Linked DNA regions of Homo sapiens: regions 1 and 2 are each linked to region 3. The links are contacts of gene promoters, found by promoter capture Hi-C in human tissues and cell types (Jung and others, 2019). All regions are on one chromosome and are shown on one strand. Each heading gives the region's core, a stretch centred on a gene start or on the middle of the fragment in contact. The rest is flanking DNA. Distances are from core to core; before and after follow the strand shown.

Region 1 (2,722 bases), core at 204-2,703, 1.2 Mb after region 3:
TTGCAATAGCCTCCTAGTTGGTCCCTATAAACAGTATCTCCTCCCCTTCTCCAGCTCAACATGGCTAGTAAGTTACGTATCTAAGCTATACAGTTGTTCTGGACACACTCTTTAGAAAGTAAACTAAAAAGACTCAGCCTCTACTTCTTAGCATTGTACTCCTGACTGTTCATGAAAACCTTAGCTTTTCTAGCCATACTCATTGCATTTCCCCCAGGCAACCCGCAGTTTAAGCACACCCAGTTGCATCTGGTAAACCTTGTAAGAGCTAAAGCCTGTGTCCTGTGATATCACACCTGCAAGGATATCTATATGTATACGATCAATATTCTTGTCCTGTTTTCTCAGGCCACGGAGAATTGTGTGTGCATTCTTCATAACCTCTCCTACCAGCTGGAGGCAGAGCTCCCAGAGAAATATTCCCAGAATATCTATATTCAAAACCGGAATATCCAGACTGACAACAACAAAAGTATTGGATGTTTTGGCAGTCGAAGCAGGAAAGTAAAAGAGGTATATTGGGAAGTTTTTGAAAGAATGAGAAAGGGAGAGAATGAGAGAGAGTGTGTGTTTGTGTATATGTGTATGTCTAAGTACTTGGTATATATCGGCACTATTTTAAGTTATTTTAATTCTTACATCAACCTTTTGAAGTGTGTATTATTAATACCCTCATTTACCAGTGAGGAAACAGAGACACAGTAAGATTAATTTTCCTGGAATAATTCAGCAAATAAGTGGAAGAGATTGAATACAATGCCAGGCAGTCTGGCTCCAGATTTTCATTGCTACCCATGAACCGTACTGCTTTATGCCTTATAGGTTAGGAAATAAGCTTAATGCAGCATAGCTAATTGTATATAAATTGTTTTTATTAAAGTCGGCCCTGATATTTGGCCTTGGGTATTCTAAAAACAAACTTTGGACATACTAAAAGCAAACCTCATAGGAAGGAATACATATTTATTTCCATACTGATATGAAAACTAAGAGAATGTAACCTCCCCTCCTTCTCTGAGTATCGTGGTATTTGTGGAAACCAGCTGGTAAATTTAGAACCCTGGTGCTATCCTGGACACTTTCACAAGACTCTGAGGGAACAGGCCTGTTTTTCTTATCTACAGGGTGGTTGTGACTAATTTAGCTTTTAGCTCAACAGCAGCCTGAAAACCATTCTAGAATGACCTATGCTTAATTCTCTGAATTTTCTCTCACTGGGAGAAATATCAAGTTAGGGGTGTGGAGTGTTATTAGGAAGAAATAATCATTATGGGCTAAAAGTTAAGTGATTAGAAATTATATATATTTGCTTTTAAAATTTCTATTTCAAGGGCTTCTTATGCAAATTATGAGCCTTTCTAGACAGTATTTCTGGTCTCCTGGTTTGAGTGTGAAATTATAGCCATCACCTGACATGCATTAATTCTGGATTCCTTTTGTGTGTGGTCAGCAATACCAGGACGTGCCGATGCCGGAGGAAAAGAGCAACCCCAAGGGCGTGGAGTGGCTGTGGCATTCCATTGTTATAAGGATGTATCTGTCCTTGATCGCCAAAAGTGTCCGCAACTACACACAAGAAGCATCCTTAGGAGCTCTGCAGAACCTCACGGCCGGAAGTGGACCAGTGAGTATTGGGCCTGATTTCCTACTTTTTAAAATAATGATATTGTAGACATACCTACATTCAATTCAGAGATGAAACAGTGAGGGAAGAGAAAAAGGTTTCTTATTTTAGTAAAGACAATTCTCAGAAATTACAGAGGGCTTCGGTCTCAGCTTATGCAAAGTCAAGTCAGGCTGCTTGACTGACAAGTCAAGTCAGTACTCTTTCAGTTACAGATCTCAGAATCCTGCCTCAAGCTGGTTTAAGCAAAAAAGAGGAAATTTTTGGCTTATGGCACTGAAAACTCCAGGGTGGGCCTTCTTTCTGTCGTGACTGGACTTAGGTGCACCAGTGATTACAGTTGACTTTCTTCATCTCCGGGCTTGGTTTTCCTCTGCTGGGTTTGTTCTCAAAGGCTCTCTCCATAGGGTAACAAAGACAGCCATGAATTATTTCAGGCTCACGTTTTATCAGCCCAATGTGTCCCCCACAAGAAACAAACTACCATTTTCCCAATAGTGTTGTTAAGAAGTTGGAGAATATGTCTCACGGGCTGGCTTGGGCCTCTTGCCCATTTCTGAACCAATACCTGTGTCTATGAGGCTATGATGTTCTAATTGGCCAAGTCTGGATCATATGCCCAGATGTGCACTTCCAGGGCATGGGTTTGATTGGATGAGGGCCACTGCCACTTGTACCACATGGGCTGAAATGGTAAAGGAGTGCTCCCTAATGGAAAATGAGACTGTTACTACCAAAGGAAGGAGGAATAAATGCTGGGAAGGCAAAAACAACAGCAGATGTCTACTGCAGTATGGAGTTGGAAAGGCCATCTGTGCTTTTGTGTCCCAGAAATTCAACTACAAAATAAAGAGCTGATCCTCTTTCCAGATGCACTTACTTTATAGCAGCAAAGTCAAAATAATTAAAATAGTAAAAGGTTATTCCCTTCCCCATGTATTTTATACCCTTCCTATATATTAAGGTATTCTGTAAGTATTTAATGATTTAAACTAAGCTTGTATTCTTTGCCTTGGTCATGAAACGATTAGAATAAACTCCCCCCAAATAGCTCATTGTCTGTCTAGTCTCCAATTATCTCTGTAGAGAAAAGTACTA
Region 2 (3,077 bases), core at 230-2,729, 1.1 Mb after region 3:
GGTTGTGAAGAGTCAATAAACTGAAATGCAGAGTACCTGGAGTATGGTAAATTACTCAATACATTTCATGTCTTGTCATTACTGGTTTTCCTTTATGAGGCACTTACGAATGTGTGCCTCATTTCAATGTAATGAGATGACAAGTAATTCAATTATTTTTTATCAAAAAATGTATGCACACTAAGACTTTAACTATTCAAGACTTAGCTGCCTATCCCTTTCCACTGGACATGGATATTCTTTTAAGAAATCTCCTGGCCAGGCACAGTGGTTCGTGACTGTAATCCCAACACTTCTGGAGTCTGAGGCAGGAGGGTCACTTGAGCCCAGGAGTTCAAGACCAGTCTGGCAGGCTGGGCAACATAGCAGACATCATCTCTAAAAAAAAATTTTTTTTTTTTTTTTTGAGATGGAGTCTTGCTCTGTCGCCTGGGCTGGAGTGCAGGGGCGCCACCTTGGCTCACTGCAAGATCCACCTCCTGGGTTCACACCATTCTCCTGCCTCAGCCTCCCAAGTAGCTGGGACTACGGGCACCTGCCACTATGCCCAACTTTTTTTTTTCTTTTTTGTATTTTTAGTAGAGACGGGGTTTCACCGTGTTAGCCAGAATGGTCTCAATCTCCTGACCTCGTGATCTGCCCACCTCGGCCCCCCAAAGTGCTGGGATTACAGGCGTGAGCCACTGCGCTGGACCAAATGTTTTTTGTTTGTTTGTTTTTTTAACTAGACAAGCATGGCGGCACATGCCTGTAGCCATTTAAAATGTTTTTTAAAAAGGAAACCTCCTGCCCGGCATGGTGGCTCACTCCTGTAATCCCAGCACTTTAAACAGCGGAGGCAGGTCAGATCACTTGAGGTCAGGAGTTCGAGACCAGCCTGGTCAACATGATGAAACCCCAACTTTACTAAAAATACAAAAATTAGCCGGGCGTGGTGGCATGCGCCTGTAATCCCAGCTATTCGTGAGGCTGATGCAGAATCGCTTGAACCCAGGAGGTGGAGGTTGCAGTCAGCCAATATCGTGCTACTGCACTCCAGCCTAGGCAACAGAGCGAGACTCCATCTCAAAAAAAAAAAAAAAAAAGGAAACCTCCTGATGGTGATTATTAAAGGTAAAATAAAATCTACCAATTGATAAACAAGCATCATGTGGCCTGTGGACTATCATTTAATATAGGTCCTAACCAGTCTCCATTGCCAGCCTACAAATTAAAGAATTAAAGGCCCTAATGATAGTCCATTTTAAAATTATGATGAATGGAAAATAGATTATTCTCTAAAAGAAATTTTGAGATAGAGAGGAAGAAACTTGCCTATTGTCACATGAGAAAATATTGTTAAGTCCAGCATTCTGCTAATGCCCATGTCTAGAAAATGTAATTCCTTTTCAATGATTCCTAGACAGGGATTCTGGGAATAATGTCATAACAGATTACACTGTATATTCACTGACTATTATATACTTCATTACCAATAGCACCCCTAGAATATAGACTGTAAATTAGAGGCCTTGTCTGTCTTATTCTCCACATGTTATCCTGCCTATAATATTGCCTAACCCATAGTAAGAACTCAGTTGCAGAAATCAATGTACACTTAGCTTACCACCAGATTTATTTCCAATGCTGAAACACTTATTCATTTATTTATTTATTTATTTTTAATTTTATTTATTTATTCATTTGAGACAGGGTCTCACTCCGTCACCCAGGCTGGAGTACAGTGGCACAGTCACAGCCCACTGCAGCCTCGACCTCCTGGGCTCAGGTAATCTTCCCACCTCAGCCTCCTGAGTAGCTGGGGCCACAGGCAGGCACCATCACGCCTGGCTAATTTTTGTATGTTTAGTAGAGACGGGTTTCACCAAGTTGCCCAGGCTGGTCTCAAACTCCTGGACTCACGTGATCTTCCCACCTCAGCCTCCCAAAGTGCGGGGATTACAGGCGTGAGCCACCGCACCCAGCAAAATACATATTTAAAAGAATTATGGGCCGGGTGCGGTGGCTCATGCCTGTAATCCCAGCACTTTGGGAGGCCGAGGCGGGCAGATCACCTGAGGTCGGGAGTTTGAGGCCAGCCTGACCAACATGGAGAAACCCTGTCTCTACTAAAAATACAAAATTAGCCGAGCGTGGTGGCACATCCCTGTAATCCCAGCTACTAGGGAGGCTGAGGCAGGAGAATCACTTGAACCTGGGAGGCGGAGGTTGCAGTGAGCCCAGATCATGCCATTGCACTCCAGCCTGAGCAACAAGAGCAAAACCCTGTCTCAGGAAAGAAAAAAAAAAAAGAATTACGTCAAGTTGGACACAGTGGTGCATGCCTGTAATCCCACCTGAGAAGGGAGGATCACTTGATCCCAGGAGTTCAAGACCAGTCTGGGCAACAAAGCAAGACCCTGTCTCAAAATTAAAAAAACAAACAAACAAAACAAACAATATCAGCCAGAGGTAAATTGTTAAATAAGCTTTTATAACACTTGAGCCCAGGAGGCAGAGGTTGCAGTGAGCCAAGATCATGCCACTGCCCTCCAGCCTGGGCAACAAAGCCAGACTGTGTCTCAAAAAATAAAAAAGAAAGAAAAAAGAAAGAAAGAGAGAAATACCTGAGACTGGGTAATTTATCTTAAAAAGGGGTTTAATTGGCTCATGGTTCTGCAGGCTTTACAGGAAGCATGGTGCTGGCATCTGTTCAGCTTCTAGGGAGGCCACAGAAAGCTTACAATCATGGCAGAAGGTGCAGGAGGGAGAGCAGGCACATCACATTGGGAAAGCAGGTGCAAGAGAGAGAGAGAGAGTGGAGGGGGAGATGCCACACTTTACAACAACCAGGTCTCCAGAGAACTCACTCTCTATCTCCAAGACAGCACCAAGCCATGAGGGATCCACTCCCATGACCCAAGCACTTCCTTCCCACCAGGCCCCACCTCCAGCACTGGAGATTACAATTCAACATGAGATTTGGGCACGGACAAATATCCAAACTATATCATACATGTTTGACTCTATTCGCAAGATTAAGATTTTCTTACTTTACTAAGTAAGAACTTTACCACCCCTCCATGCTTAATTGGGAA
Region 3 (2,856 bases), core at 51-2,550:
TTTTTGCCCCCGGACCAGCTTAGTGATGGTTCAGGTAGCAGCAACCAATAAACAACAACAACTTAAAATCTATTTCTATTTTCCAAGAAATGTTCTTTAAAAGCCTTTATTTTGATAAATAAACTGCAAATGTTCCAGTTTTTAAAAGCATGGAAACATTGTTTGGGACTCTTAAGTTTAGGAAAACATTTGGACCACAGGCTCCATGATGACAGCTAACATAAACTGAGACAGAAATTGTTGCCAAACCCTCTGTATTAACGTTACAATATGCCCTATAGTAAAGATTATTGTCATTTTGCAGATGAGTAACCTGAATTTCTGAAACTCAGAACATCTCCAAGATCACAAAACTAGTAAATCACAGCACCAAGATTTAAGATCAGATCTTTCTCTAAAACAGACTTTATATTTCTAGCCAGTACCCTATATTGTGTCACCAGAGAAGCAGGGGATGCTTATTTTGATATTTATATGTACATACTTGCACAGTCAAATATATACTCAAAAATGATGTGACTTGACTGGTTGCCAGTTTATCCAGTTAACAGTTCACTAAAAATACCCAGGGAAGGAATTTGTGATTATAAATTGTCACTTTTTGGTAGCTGAAGATCCCTCCAGTCCACCCTATCCCACCCCTAAAATGCACAGTGAGGTGCTTGACAGGTGAGCTAAAGGAAAGTTTTCTGGTATTTCCAAGGAGCACCCGAATGCCTTTAATCCTAAAACAAGGAAAGACAAAGTGGGATCGATATCGTCAGCTGCCAAGAGGAGGGCTCAGTTCCCCGTTGAGTATTCTCCCAGATCACTCCTTCCTGGAGGACAGATCTGCTGTTTATTCATTCATTTAATAAATATTTCACAGATCTCAGAGACAGGAACAAAAGACTATACCCAGTTTCTTTCATGTTCTGAGGCTTGAGGGGGTGGAACAGGACGAGTGAAGTCTAAGGATGGGAGGACGTGGGGACGCTGGGACCTCTCAGGCCTCTCCTGGGGTGGGGACAGGTTGGGGACCCCACCTGGGAAAGGGAGAAATGGCCCTCACAGTAGCGCTGCGCCTGAGGCAGGTGGAAGATCTCGTCCATGTAGGGCTCTCGCAACGCCCGGCTGAAGGCGGAGAAGAGGAGGCAGGATACTAAAAAGGTACAGCTCAAGGCGGCCGAGAAATAGTAACCTTCCAGCTGCGCCATTCCAGCTCCCACAGCCACTGCCCAAGAACCTACTCCTGGAAAATTCTGAGCCTGGAAACCCGAGCTGGAAACTTGGGCTCGAAATGGGCGCGCTAGGCGGGACTAGCCAGACGGGGCCACATACCGGAAGGCAAAGGATGCTGGGAGAGCGCGGATCCGGAAAGATCGGGTCGCTGTTTCCCGGAGTGACGGGTTTAGATAACGGACCGGATGATTACCCTCTCAATCGCATTGCCCGGGGCGCACAAAGTGTCAAAACTTCCGGAAGGGGCGGGTCTCGGATTTCGCCAGCGCGGGAGGTGCGTGGCTTGCTGCTTAGAAAAAAAAAAAAAAAAAAAAAAAAAAAAAAGCCGCTTCTTAGCTTGGATCTTTTTTCCTGCTCACTTCCATCACTTACCAGAAGGTGGCGACGTTTCCCCACGTTTCCAATTCCAAGCCCTAAAATGGACACATTTTTTCCCCCGTTATTTCTGTTATTTCTCTCCAGTGATCCGAATTAATTAAACCCTCAATTCCAAGACATTTCATTCCATCAACTTTGGAGTGTAGGAAGGGTGCGTTGGTTGTGATAGCAAAGACTGAGAGTTTTAGATGAAAACTTGAAGAACCAGAGACCCGTCAATGCCGAATGAACTTCAGTGAGAGGAGTGTTTGTTCGTTTGTTTGTTTAGGTTAAAAGAGAACTCTTTCAAAATGTGGATGCTCTCAGAGGATTTAGTTAAATTGACATTCCTAGTGCACTTTCATAGTCATATTACCCTGTAGGATTTGGAAAATACATATATATTTTAGAATTCGGGATGTTTTAGGTGTGCCTGTAAATTTGGTTGTTAATATCTGTAAGGCAGCCTTCTGTTTTTCCTACTAAATCATAAGCGTGAACATCTTAGTGGGTGGCATTATACATCCTTTATGTTTGTAGTCCCCAAAATGGCTTTCACACAGTAGGCACTTAAATTTGTGGACTTTTATAGGCTGTGTAGACATCATCAAATTCCTGTATTCTGGGATTAGGTGCTGGGGGCAGGAGATGAGGTAAATAATTTGAAGAATGCCGAAGATAAATTATGTGTTGTAATTTTGTCTTGAGCATGGTTGGCCATGTTTTGTAGAAAAACTATTTCTCAGGTAACCTCAATCAGGTTGCCTTTGGCAGGAATATATCAGAATTTAGGCGGGATTTAAGGTTGCAAACCTCAGAGTTCTCAATTGAGCTCTTTTTCTGGGTTAAAACTAATTCAGTATTTCTAAACTTAAGAAAGTTTCTTAAATTAAGCTGACTGCCTTTCCATTCTGTCTCTGCCTGTTTCCTCAATGATAAGAGGAAGTAGTGGTGAATGAGGGCTGGGATGGGAACATTTACATTACTGGAATAAAGTCATGTGAGGATCCTACTCTGATGTGATGCTTAGCTTTGTTTTAACCATTATCTCCCATTTTATTGTTGAGTCCATGCTGTACTTATCTGTTTAAGTCACTTGTAACACATCTCCAGATGATTCAGTCTTCAAGAGGTTGATGTGATCTACAAGTAATTAGCTCCTGACCTGTTGACCTGCTAAATCGTGTTATATATACTCTGCAGCTTACTGACCCACCCTAGAAATAGTGGGTCGTTTTTAAAGGGAGTAGAACAAGACTAGACATTTATGCTCTCCAT

What was found. Contacts are between HindIII fragments. The study calls those that stand out against the background at their distance.
Region 1: a contact is called between a fragment that was not itself captured here and the fragment with the promoter of ALG10 in region 3, in 1 of the 25 tissues and cell types used here (dorsolateral prefrontal cortex).
Region 2: a contact is called between a fragment that was not itself captured here and the fragment with the promoter of ALG10 in region 3, in 1 of the 25 tissues and cell types used here (dorsolateral prefrontal cortex).

The regions. Positions count from the first base shown.
Region 1 is chr12:32,820,258-32,822,979 of GRCh38, reverse strand. It overlaps PKP2 (plakophilin 2), which reads left to right. Exons shown (of 13, transcript NM_001005242.3): 8 at 349-513; 9 at 1,451-1,624. Among named protein-coding and RNA genes, the nearest start is that of YARS2, 66 kb to the right of the region's middle. The HindIII fragment of the contact is 5,860 bases long and covers 1-2,722 here.
Region 2 is chr12:32,940,436-32,943,512 of GRCh38, reverse strand. No RefSeq gene overlaps it. Among named protein-coding and RNA genes, the nearest start is that of PKP2, 45 kb to the right of the region's middle. The HindIII fragment of the contact is 6,625 bases long and covers 1-3,077 here.
Region 3 is chr12:34,020,940-34,023,795 of GRCh38, reverse strand. It overlaps ALG10 (ALG10 alpha-1,2-glucosyltransferase), which reads right to left and starts at 1,300. Exons shown (of 3, transcript NM_032834.4): 1 at 1,026-1,300. The coding sequence starts at 1,196. RefSeq lists silencers at 1,294-1,480, 1,394-1,543. The HindIII fragment of the contact is 12,723 bases long and covers 1-2,856 here.